Linked DNA regions of Homo sapiens: region 2 is linked to region 1. Evidence: promoter capture Hi-C in human tissues and cell types (Jung and others, 2019). All regions are on one chromosome and are shown on one strand. The core of a region is centred on a gene start or on the middle of the fragment in contact, and the rest is flanking DNA. Distances in the headings are between cores, read along the strand shown.

Region 1 (5,078 bases), core at 1,712-4,211:
TGAAACCCTGTCTCTAGTAAAAATAGAAAAATTAGCCGGGCGTGGTGGCAGGTGCCTGTAATCCCAGCTACTCAGGAGGCTGAAGCAGGAGAATCGCTTGAACCCAGGAGGCGGAGGTTGCAGTGAGCTGAGATGGCGCGATTGCACTCCAGCCTGGGTGACAAGAGCGAAACTCCATCTCAAAAAAAAAAAAAAAAAAAAAATGAGGCCAGGCGTGGTGATTCACACCTGTAATCCCAGCACTTTGGGAGGCCGAGGCAGGTGGATCACCTGAGGTCAGGAGTTCAAGACCAGCCTAGCCAACATAGTGAAACCCAATCTGTACTGAAAATACAAAAATTATCTGGGCATGGTGGTGTGCGCTTGTGGCCCCAGCTACTCGGGGGGCTGAGGCAGGAGAATTGCTTGAATCTGGGAGGCAGAGGTTGCAGTGAGTCTAGATTACTCCACTGCACGCCAGCCTGGGTGACTGAGCAAGACTCCATCTCATAAATAAATAAATAAAGCAAATCTAACATAGAAGCATTTTTCATAGTTTTAATGCAGCCAACAATTGATCAAATGCTTTTCTATAAATGCTACAAATGAAGGCATAACATCAAGTGATTTGAGAGTTAAATTACCTCAACATTCATATTTTGAAAATTTAAAATTCTTTTCATGCAAAACAAGAAAAGTCAAATATAACTATAACGCCTCAAAAGATAAATCCTTGCTTCTTTTAGTCTTACACAAAAGTAAATGATATATTTTAACTTTGGATTACTCTGTATAATAAACACTGTTTAGAGTAATGTCTAAAATGTTAGTGTCTTAGAGTTTTCTACTGCGAATTACCTGATGATTACTTCTACTTGATTTCTAATTTTTTTTACATTTACTGAATTTGAAGAATATTATTTAATGTGAACACTCTGGTGTTTTCTAAGGTATACTTCTTAGAACAAATGGTTTTTCTCTATTTATTATATTATTCATAGGGTCTGTCTAAAATACAAATTTCCTAAAGTTGAAGAAAGTGTCAACAACTGATTGAGGGTTTCTCTCCAGTATAAATTCTCCTGTGTACAATAAGATATAAGTGAAGATATTAAACTCAACTTTTCAAAATCAGGAAATGTAACATTAAAAAATGAGGTGAATCTTAATAACATAAATAAAGTATACAATCACAAAAAACAGATACTGTCCGAATCCACTTACATGAGATAGCTAGAAACAGAAACCAAAATGATATTTTGAAAAAGATAAATAATAGGAAATTGGGCAGTTGTTTCAGGGGTATTGAGTTTTGTTTAGAAGATAAAAATGTTTTCCGAGCGTGGTGGCTCATGCCTGTAATCCCAGCACTTTGGGAGGCCAAGGTGGGCAGATCACCTGAGGTTGGGAGTTTGAGACAACCCTGACCAACATGGAGAAACCCCATCTCTACTAAAAATACAAAATTAGCCAGGTTTGGTGGCACATGCCTGTAATCCCAGCTATTCGGGAGGCTGAGGCACTAGAATCACTTGAACCCGGGAGGTAGAGGTTGCAGTGAGTTGAGATCACGCCATTGCACTCCAGCCTGGGTGACAAGAGCAAAACTCTGTCTCAAAAAAGAAAAAAAGAAAAAGAAAGACCAGGGAGGGATCTGTAGACATAGAGCATTCTTCTTCTGTGGCCCCATCGTCCTTTGTTCACTGTCTGATCTCTGGAAGAAAGGTGGGCAACAGGTGGTCTTCCTGTTGTTATTTTATTCCTGCTGTCCTCTGCTCTTTCTATGGCCACTATCTGTTCTACCCTTGGAACTGAAGAGAGATGTTGGTAGGGAAAGACTTTCCCCTTATTTATGGCAGGAAAAGGATGTTCAAGCCCAGTGTGGTGGCTCATGGCTGTAATCCCAGCACTTTGGGAGGATGAGACAGAAGGATTACTTAAGGTCAGGGGTTTGAGTCCAGCCTGGCTGACATGGCAAAATTCCATTTCTACTAAAAATACAAAAATAAGCCAGGCATGGTGGCACATGCCTGTAATCACAGCTACTCTGGGGAAAATAAGGCAGGAGAATTGCTTGAATCCGGAATGTGGAGATTGCAGTGAGCCGAGATTGCACCACTGCACTCCAGCCTGGACATAAGAGCAAGACTCTGTTTGAAAAGAAAAGAAGAGAAGAGAAAGGAAAAGAAAGAAAAGAAGAGAAGAGAAAGGAAATAAAAAGAAAGGAAGAAAAGAAAAGAAAAAAGAAAAGGGATGTTCAGGATTTCATCTTCTGCCATCAGAGCTGCACTTCAATGTGGCAGCTATTGGCCACCTGTGGCTACTGGGTGCATGGAATGTGGCTGGTCTGAACTGCGATGTGGTAGAAAGGTAAAATACATAGTTTTAATTTTTTTTCCAAAATATATATACTTTGTTAATAATTACATACTGGTCACATATTAAAATGATAATATTTTGGATATATTGGGTTAATTAAATTTCTACAATGAATTCCTCCTGTTTTTTTTTCTTTTTAAAATTTTCCTTCTAGAAAATTTAGAATTCACGTGGCTCACATTCAATTTCAGAGGACTGCCTTTTTAAAAAAAAATGTCAGGCTACCCGCTCAAAGGACAAGAAGCCAGGAGCTCATAAAATTGGAAAATTTTAAATAATTGTTATTGCATTATTTTCATGTGTGAATAGCCACATAATATATTATTTATAAAGGCATACGACCTTATACGCAGGGTTATATGCAAATACTCTCTGGTGTGAGCCTGGTCCGTTCAGGGAGGAAGCCCTTCCCTGAGAACCCTGCAGCTTGGATTTCACTCTTTCTACGTTCAGCCCAGCCGCTGAGCACATATTCTGTCACTCAGGGCATTAGGGGGTGGCGCCCTAAACATTATCCAATCAGGGACGCGGGGCTGGGACCCGTCCAATCAGGCACGCAGCTGGAGCGGACAGGACGGCTTCCGGGATTTGGCGGGGCCTTTGTCTCTAGCTGCTGCGGGAGCTCCAGGTCTAGTCTTTACTGCTCTGTGTATTCTGCTCCTAGAGGCCCAGCCTCTGTGACTCCGTTATCTGCAGGTATTGGGAGATGCACAGCTAAGATGCCAGGACCACCTGGAAGCCTAGAAATGGTGAGAGTGCGGTCCGACACCCCGAGAGAGGGGGAGGGGCTGGTTGGAACCGGTCGGAAGTGGCTGTGGCAGGACTCCAGGCTCCAAGCACTGGGCTCCAAAATCCGCGGCCCGAGTTGTCCTTGGCGCAGCTCGGTCCTCAGTCCCCTTCAGCCATAAGATGGCGGCTGGGCTGACAGCCGGACCCCGGGCGTCATGTCTCCTCCCTGCGCAGTGACTGTGCCTTGGCCTGGAGCCCTCGCTGGGCAGCTCTGCACCCGCAGTGCCGCATCTCTGCCGATAACTCGGGGTGCAGGGTTCATAAATGGGAAGCGCTTTGGTCCATGGGGTCCCAGTCCCTCCTTTTTTCTATTAAAAATTCATGGAAGTCACTGCAAATATATTTAAAAATGTAATAGAAGAGTGGTTCAAAAATCGTAGAGCACCCAGCTATGATTTGTAATTTGTGGTCCATGGGAGGGGCTTGAAGGAAAGACTTTTAAGTGGTGTATGATGAATAAAACCAAATTCAATAATCGGTTAGGTACAGTTACATAACTTCTTAATTTGTAAGATCAAAGTGGAAATTTTCTGGTTATGTAATCGGAGGGTACTTGGCAGTTTATAGTTGGTTAAGCAAGAATTTTATTTCCCCCAATGTAATACTTTACAAAAAACAATGTATTTGAGTTAGATTTTTTTTTTTTTTTTTTTGAAACGGAGTCTCGCTCTGTCGCCCAGGCTGAAGTGCAGTGGCACGATCTCGGCTCACTACAACCTCTGCCTCCCGGGTTCAAGTGATTCTCCTGTCTCAGCCTCCCGAGTAGCTGGGATTACAGGCGCCCGCCACCATGCCCGGCTAATTTTTGTATTTTTAGTAGAGACGGGTTTCACCATGTTGGACAGGCTGGTCTTGAACTCCTGACCTTGTGATCTGCCCGCCTCGGCCTCTCAAAGTGCTGGGATTACAGGCGTGAGCCACTGTGCCTAATGTAAATTTTTTTTTTTTTTGAGACGGAGTCTTGCTCTGTCGCCCAGGCTGGAGTGCAGTGGCGCGATCTCGGCTCACTGCAAGCTCCGCCTCCTGGGTTGACGCCATTCTCCTGCCTCAGCCTCCTGAGTAGCTGGGACTACAGGCGCCCGCCACCACGCCTGGCTAATTTTTTTGTATTTTTAGTAGGGACAGGGTTTCACCAAGTTAGCCAGGATGGTCTTGATCTCCTGACCTCGTAATCCACCCGCCTCGGCCTCCCAAAGTGCTGGGATTACAGGCGTCAGCCACCGCGCCCGGCCCTAGTGTACATTTTTGATACTATATTTTAATTAATCATTTTTTGAGAAATCATTGGATGGTACTTTTTAAAAGATTTGTTTTCCGTTTGTAAAAATTTTCTGTAAGAAGAAAGCAAAGAGTAATCCCTGGACACTATTGTAAAAAATCTCTGCGCCTCTTTTCCTTTTATCTTCCATAGGCACAGAGATCTTATCAGAATTTTGGGGGGTCACAGTTTCCCTTTGGAAACTTTATGGGGTGATGTGTCCTCGGCTACCCTTCAGATTTTTCCTGGTCCTGGGTTTCAGTACTGTCTGGGAATAAACCATGATACCCACCATGACTATGTCTGCTAGAGTGCCTAATGAATATCAGCTCCTGGGTCATTTTCTCCCACAGGACTGCCTGAGGTACAAAGTGTAGCCTCTCGAGGGAGCAGGTGGATGCCCTGGAGCTGAGAGAAATCTCCTGGTGCACTCTTCCTTGGAAAGGCTGACACCTTGAGACATTAAGATTGTCTTCACCCAACTCAGCTTCCGTTTCCTTGGGACACATTGCTGGTCAATCAGATGCTGGTATTGAGGGAAAAACATAGAAATAATTTCTGGATTCTCTAAGGGGGCAGAAAAATAGTGAAAAAAAATGATGAAAAAAGAGTGAAAGACAAATAGTGAAAAATTTGTAAAGGAAATTAAAAGGTAAAATATTTACGAATGGTG
Region 2 (5,078 bases), core at 1,500-3,999, 150 kb before region 1:
ATAAAATATAATACACAAATTTTGGAAACACATCTAGAAGTTATTTTGTGTGTACTCCTAAACTTTATAAAAATCATTCTTATAATCCATGACCAGCTCACATGATGAATACCTGATAAATTATAAAAGAAAAACGCATAAGTAACAAGAAAATTAAAGGTGTAGCATGAGTATCACGCAAGTATAAACAAAAACTTTGCATGGGGAGATTCTAAATCGTAAGCCAGATTTTACAGAAATGAATTCAATGCAAAGCAGAGGGTATAGATTTGCTTTCAGCATTTTTGAGGTTTTCAGTTGTCTAGTAAATTAGTCACCTTTTAAAAATTATTAGTTTTGGCCGGGCGCGGTGGCTCACGCCTGTAATCCCAGCACTTTGGGTGGCCGAGGCGGGCGGATCACGAGGTCAGGAGATTAAGACCATCCTGGCTAATGCGGTGAAACCCTGTCTCTACTAAAAATACAAAAAAATTAGCCGGGCGTGGTGCTGGGCGCCTGTAGTCCCAGCAACTCGGGAGGCTGAGGCAGGAGAATGGCGTGAACCCGGGAAGCGGAGCTTGCAGTGAGCCGAGATCGCACCACTGCACTCCAAGCCTGGGCGACAGAGCAAGACTCCGTCTCGAAAAAAAAAAAGATTAGTTTTGTTCCAATATTGCTCGTCTTCTGAAAATAGGTACAAGCTAATACACAAACACACTTACTTGCTCCATAATTTTCTCATACCTAAGGTTCATTTTTAGAGTAATATATGTGTATAGTTAAGTGTATGTAAATCAAAACTAAAATGCTGTATGTTTGCAGGCAGAGAGGTCACATGTTCAAAGAAAAATATATAACATTTTTTAAATGTTTATTCAGAACTCAGAATTTTCTCATGGTTTATTTATACTTGTATATAATTTTTATTATAACCATAAAATGACCCTGTAGTAACGACTGTACATTCTAAAGTATCTAAAAGTGCAGAATTGGTTTGTAATACAAAGGAGAAATGCTGGAGTTGATGGATACATCTTTTGCCCTGATGTGATTAATACATAAAATTATATGCCTGTATCAAAATATGCCATACATGGCATAAAGATATACACATACTATGTATCCACAAAAATTAAGAGAAATAAGTTTAAATTTTAAAAAGAATAAAAATCTAACCTATGGGAACAATATTCTTTATTAGCAGTTTAAAGTCACTAGCAAAAATAATTATTAGAGATGTTAGCCCATTATGTTATCAAGTAGTATACTGTTACCCTCTTTTACCTAAACCCTTGAGTAATGTGGGATAGGTAAAGTCAGTGGCATGAAAACACTTCATTGAATGCACAATAGTTTTAACATGTTAAAAAAAGTTTAATTAAAAAACTAAGTTCACGCATAATCCAAAAATTTTTAAACACATTGCATTTTATTACATAAAAGTACAAATAGTAAAATGATATACTACTAATTCACTTTAATTTTAACTAAGATTAAAAATGGTTTTCTCTTACTATAATGCAGAAGAATATTGCTCTGAAAACCTACTTCATGGATCACTCAATATTATAAGTTAAACACAAACAGCCTCTTCACTCAGGTTTTCATCATGCATCTTACATTTTAATGTCCTTATTCTTTCATAGAAAGTGTCATAAATAATACCGACCTAACAGAAATGATTTCTCATATCTTTGATGCATGAAAAATTAATCACATGCTTTCACATGTGAATACAATAGGAATGAAGAGCATGAATTTGAGTTGAATTACATCATTTGCTTTTCAAAAACTAATTTTTCAAGAAAAAATATAATTTGAATGTAATTATACATCTACAAAAAAATTCTACTTCTTTTAAAGTTATATACACATTATTTACCTACCAACTTTAGTTTTAAATTATTTTCTATACTCAGCATTCTGATTCTATACTCAGCAATGTCTGAAGTGTCAGTACCTTAGATATTTCTACTGTGAATTCTCTGATATTTATATAGACTTAATTTTGGATTAAATTATTTTTATATTTACTTCACTTGCAAAAATATATTTTAGTATGAGGCCTCTGGTATTTTCTAAGCTGTAGTTTTTTAAAAAATGTTTTCACAAATGCATTACATTTACAGTGCTTTTCTCCAATATAAATTTTCTGGTGTTGAACAACATTTGAGCAACTGCTTCATGGTTTTCCTCTAGTGCAAAATGGGTACAAAAGTATCTGTGATACAAGTAAAGGTACTACAACCCTCTTCGTATTTGTATTGTTTGTCCTCACAATGAATACTCTTTTTTTGTTTTGTTTTTGAGACGAAGTTTTTGCTCTTGTTGCTTTGGCTGGAGTGTAGTGGTGTGATTTCAGCTCACTGCAATCTTCGCCTCCCAGGTTTGAGCAATTCTCCTGCTTCAGCCTCCCAATTAGCTGGGATTACAGGGGCCTGCCACCACACGCAGCTAATTTTTGTAAAATTTTTAATAGAGATGGGGTTTTGCTATGTTGGCCAGGCTGGTCTCAGACTCCTGCCCTCAGGTGATCCACCCACCTTGGCCTCCCAAAGTGCTGGCATTACAGATGTGAGCCAGCACAACTGGCTCCTCTTCTTCACTTTAAAGGCTTATATTTTCTGAAAGATCTCTTGACAAAAATTGCATTTATAATGCTTTTATTACGTACTAACTCTCTAATGTTGAGTAAAATCTGAGCAGATAATAATGGCTTTTCCACATTCCTTGTATTTGTACAATCTTTCTGAAGTATAAATGCTTTCCTGTGCAATAAGGGGTGAGCATTTATTAAAAGTGTTGCCACATTTTTTACACTTCCAGGAGTTTTCTTCAGTATGGATTCTTACCTACAATCAAGTGTGACAACCATTTAAAGGCTTTGTGATATTTTTCACATTTCTAGGATTTTTCACCAGTATGATTTATGTTAGAAAGTTCGAGGTGTTGTCAAAATTATTGTCACATCATTCAGGTTTGTAAAGTTTTCAGTATTATCTTATGTTTAGTGAGGTTTGAGGATTGGTTTAAAGTATTGCCACATTATTCACATTTGCAGGGTTTCTCTCAAAGTATAAACTGTCTTATATGTAGCAAGGTGTGAGGACCAGTTAAAGGCATTGCCACGTTTTTTACATTTGTAGGGTTTCTTTCCAGTATAAATACTCTTACATGTAGTAAGAGTTGAGAATCAGTTAAAAGCTTTGCCACAGACTTCACATTTGTAGGGTTTCTTTCCAGTATGAATTTTCTTATCTACAGTTAAGGGTTAAGGAAGGTTAAAAGCTTTGCCACATTCTTCACAATTGTAGGCTTTCTCTCCAGTATGAATTTCTGTATAGTAAGGTATGAGGATTGGTTAAAAGCTTTGCCACATTCTTCACAACTATAGAGTTCCTCTCCAGTATAAATTATCTTATGTGTAGAAAGGTGTGAGGACTGATTAAAGGCATTGCCACATTCTTCTCATTTGTATGGCTTTTCTCCAGTATGAATTACCTTATGTTTAGTAAAAGTTGAGGATCAGTTAAAGGATTTGCCACATTTTTCACATTTGTAGGATTCTCTCCAGTACGAATTTTCTCAACTTTCAGTAAGGTTTGAAGATTAGTTAAAAGCTGTGCCACATTCTTTACATTGTAAGGTTTCTCACCAGTATAAAATACCTCGTGTGTGCAGAAAAAGTTGAAGACTTGTTAAAGGCTTTAACACATTCTTCACATTTGTAGTTTCTCTCCAGTATGAATTTTCCTATGTGTAGTAAGCTTGTAGGATCAATTAAGTTTTGCCATACTCACATTTGTAGGGTTTCTCTCCAGTATGAATTTTCTTATGTGTAGTAAGATTTGAGGATAGGTTGAAAGCTCTGCCATAATCTCCACATTTGTAGGGTTTCTCTCCAGTATGAATTATCTTATGTATATTAAGAGATGAGAACTGGTTAAAGGATTTGCCACATTCTTCACATTTGTAGGGTTTCTCTGAAGTATGAATTTTCTTATGTGTAGTAAGGTTTGAGGATTGGTTAAAAGCTTTGCCACATTCTTCACATTTATAGGGTTTCTCTCCAGTATGAATTTTCTTATGTGCAGTAAGGGTTGAGGATAGGTTAAAAGCTTTGCCACATTCTTTACATTTGTAAGGTTTCTCTCCAGTATGAATTATCTTATGTCTATTAAGGGTTGAGGAGCAGTTAAAGGCTTTGCCACATTCTGCACATTGGTAAGGTTTCTCTCCCGTATGAATTCTCTTATGTATAGTTAGGTTTGAGAATCGGTTATAAGCTTTTCCACATTCTTCACATTTGTGGGGTTTCTCTCCAGTATAAATTATCTTATGGTTAGTAATGTTTGAGAATAGGTTAAAAGCTTTTCCATGTTCTTCAAATTTGTAGAGGTTCTCTCCAGTATGAATTATCTTTTGTGTAGTAAGGTTTGAGGACTGGTTAAAAACTTTGCCATGTTCTTCACATTTGTAGGGTTTCTCTCCAGTATGAATAATTTTATGTATAGTACGGTGTGAGGACTGTTTAAAGGCCTTGCCAAATTCTTCACATTTGTTGAGTTTCTCTTTAGTATGAACTATCTTATGTCTAGTAAGTTGATAGGATTGATTAAAGGCTTTTCCACATTCTTCACATTTATAGGGTTTTTCTCCAGTATGAATTCTCTTATGTTTAGTAAGGGTTGAGAATCGGTTAAAAGCTTTGCCACATTCCTCACATTTATAGGGTTTCTCTCCAGTATGAATTTTCTTATGTTCAGTAAGGTTTGAAGACTGGCTAAAAGCTCTGTCACATTCTTCACATTTGTAGGGTTTCTCTCCAGTATGAATTTTCTTATGTCTAGTAAGGGTTGAGGATCGATTAAAAGCTTTTCCACATTCTTCACATTTGTATGGTTTCTCTCCAGAATAAATTTTCCTATGGTTAATTAGGTTTGAGTGTTGGTTAAAAGCTTTGCCACATTCTTCACATTTATAGGATTTCTCTGCAGTATGAATTTTCTTATGTTCAGTAAGGTTTGAAGATTGGTTAAAAGCTTTGCCACATTCTTTACATTTGTAGGGTTTCTCTCCAGTATGAATTATCTTATGTC

The links. Contacts are between HindIII fragments. The study calls those that stand out against the background at their distance.
Region 2: a contact is called between a fragment that was not itself captured here and the fragment with the promoter of ZNF680 in region 1, in 2 of the 25 tissues and cell types used here (hippocampus and mesenchymal stem cells).

Annotation. Positions count from the first base shown.
Region 1 is chr7:64,560,954-64,566,031 of GRCh38, reverse strand. ZNF680 (zinc finger protein 680) reads left to right here and starts at 2,961. Exons shown (of 4, transcript NM_178558.5): 1 at 2,961-3,107. The coding sequence starts at 3,078. RefSeq lists a silencer at 2,803-2,912 and an enhancer at 3,013-3,372. The HindIII fragment of the contact is 27,021 bases long and covers 1-5,078 here.
Region 2 is chr7:64,707,338-64,712,415 of GRCh38, reverse strand. ZNF107 (zinc finger protein 107) reads right to left here. Exons shown (of 4, transcript NM_001282359.2): 4 at 839-5,078. The coding sequence ends at 3,760. Among named protein-coding and RNA genes, the nearest start is that of MIR6839, 31 kb to the right of the region's middle. The HindIII fragment of the contact is 5,049 bases long and covers 225-5,078 here.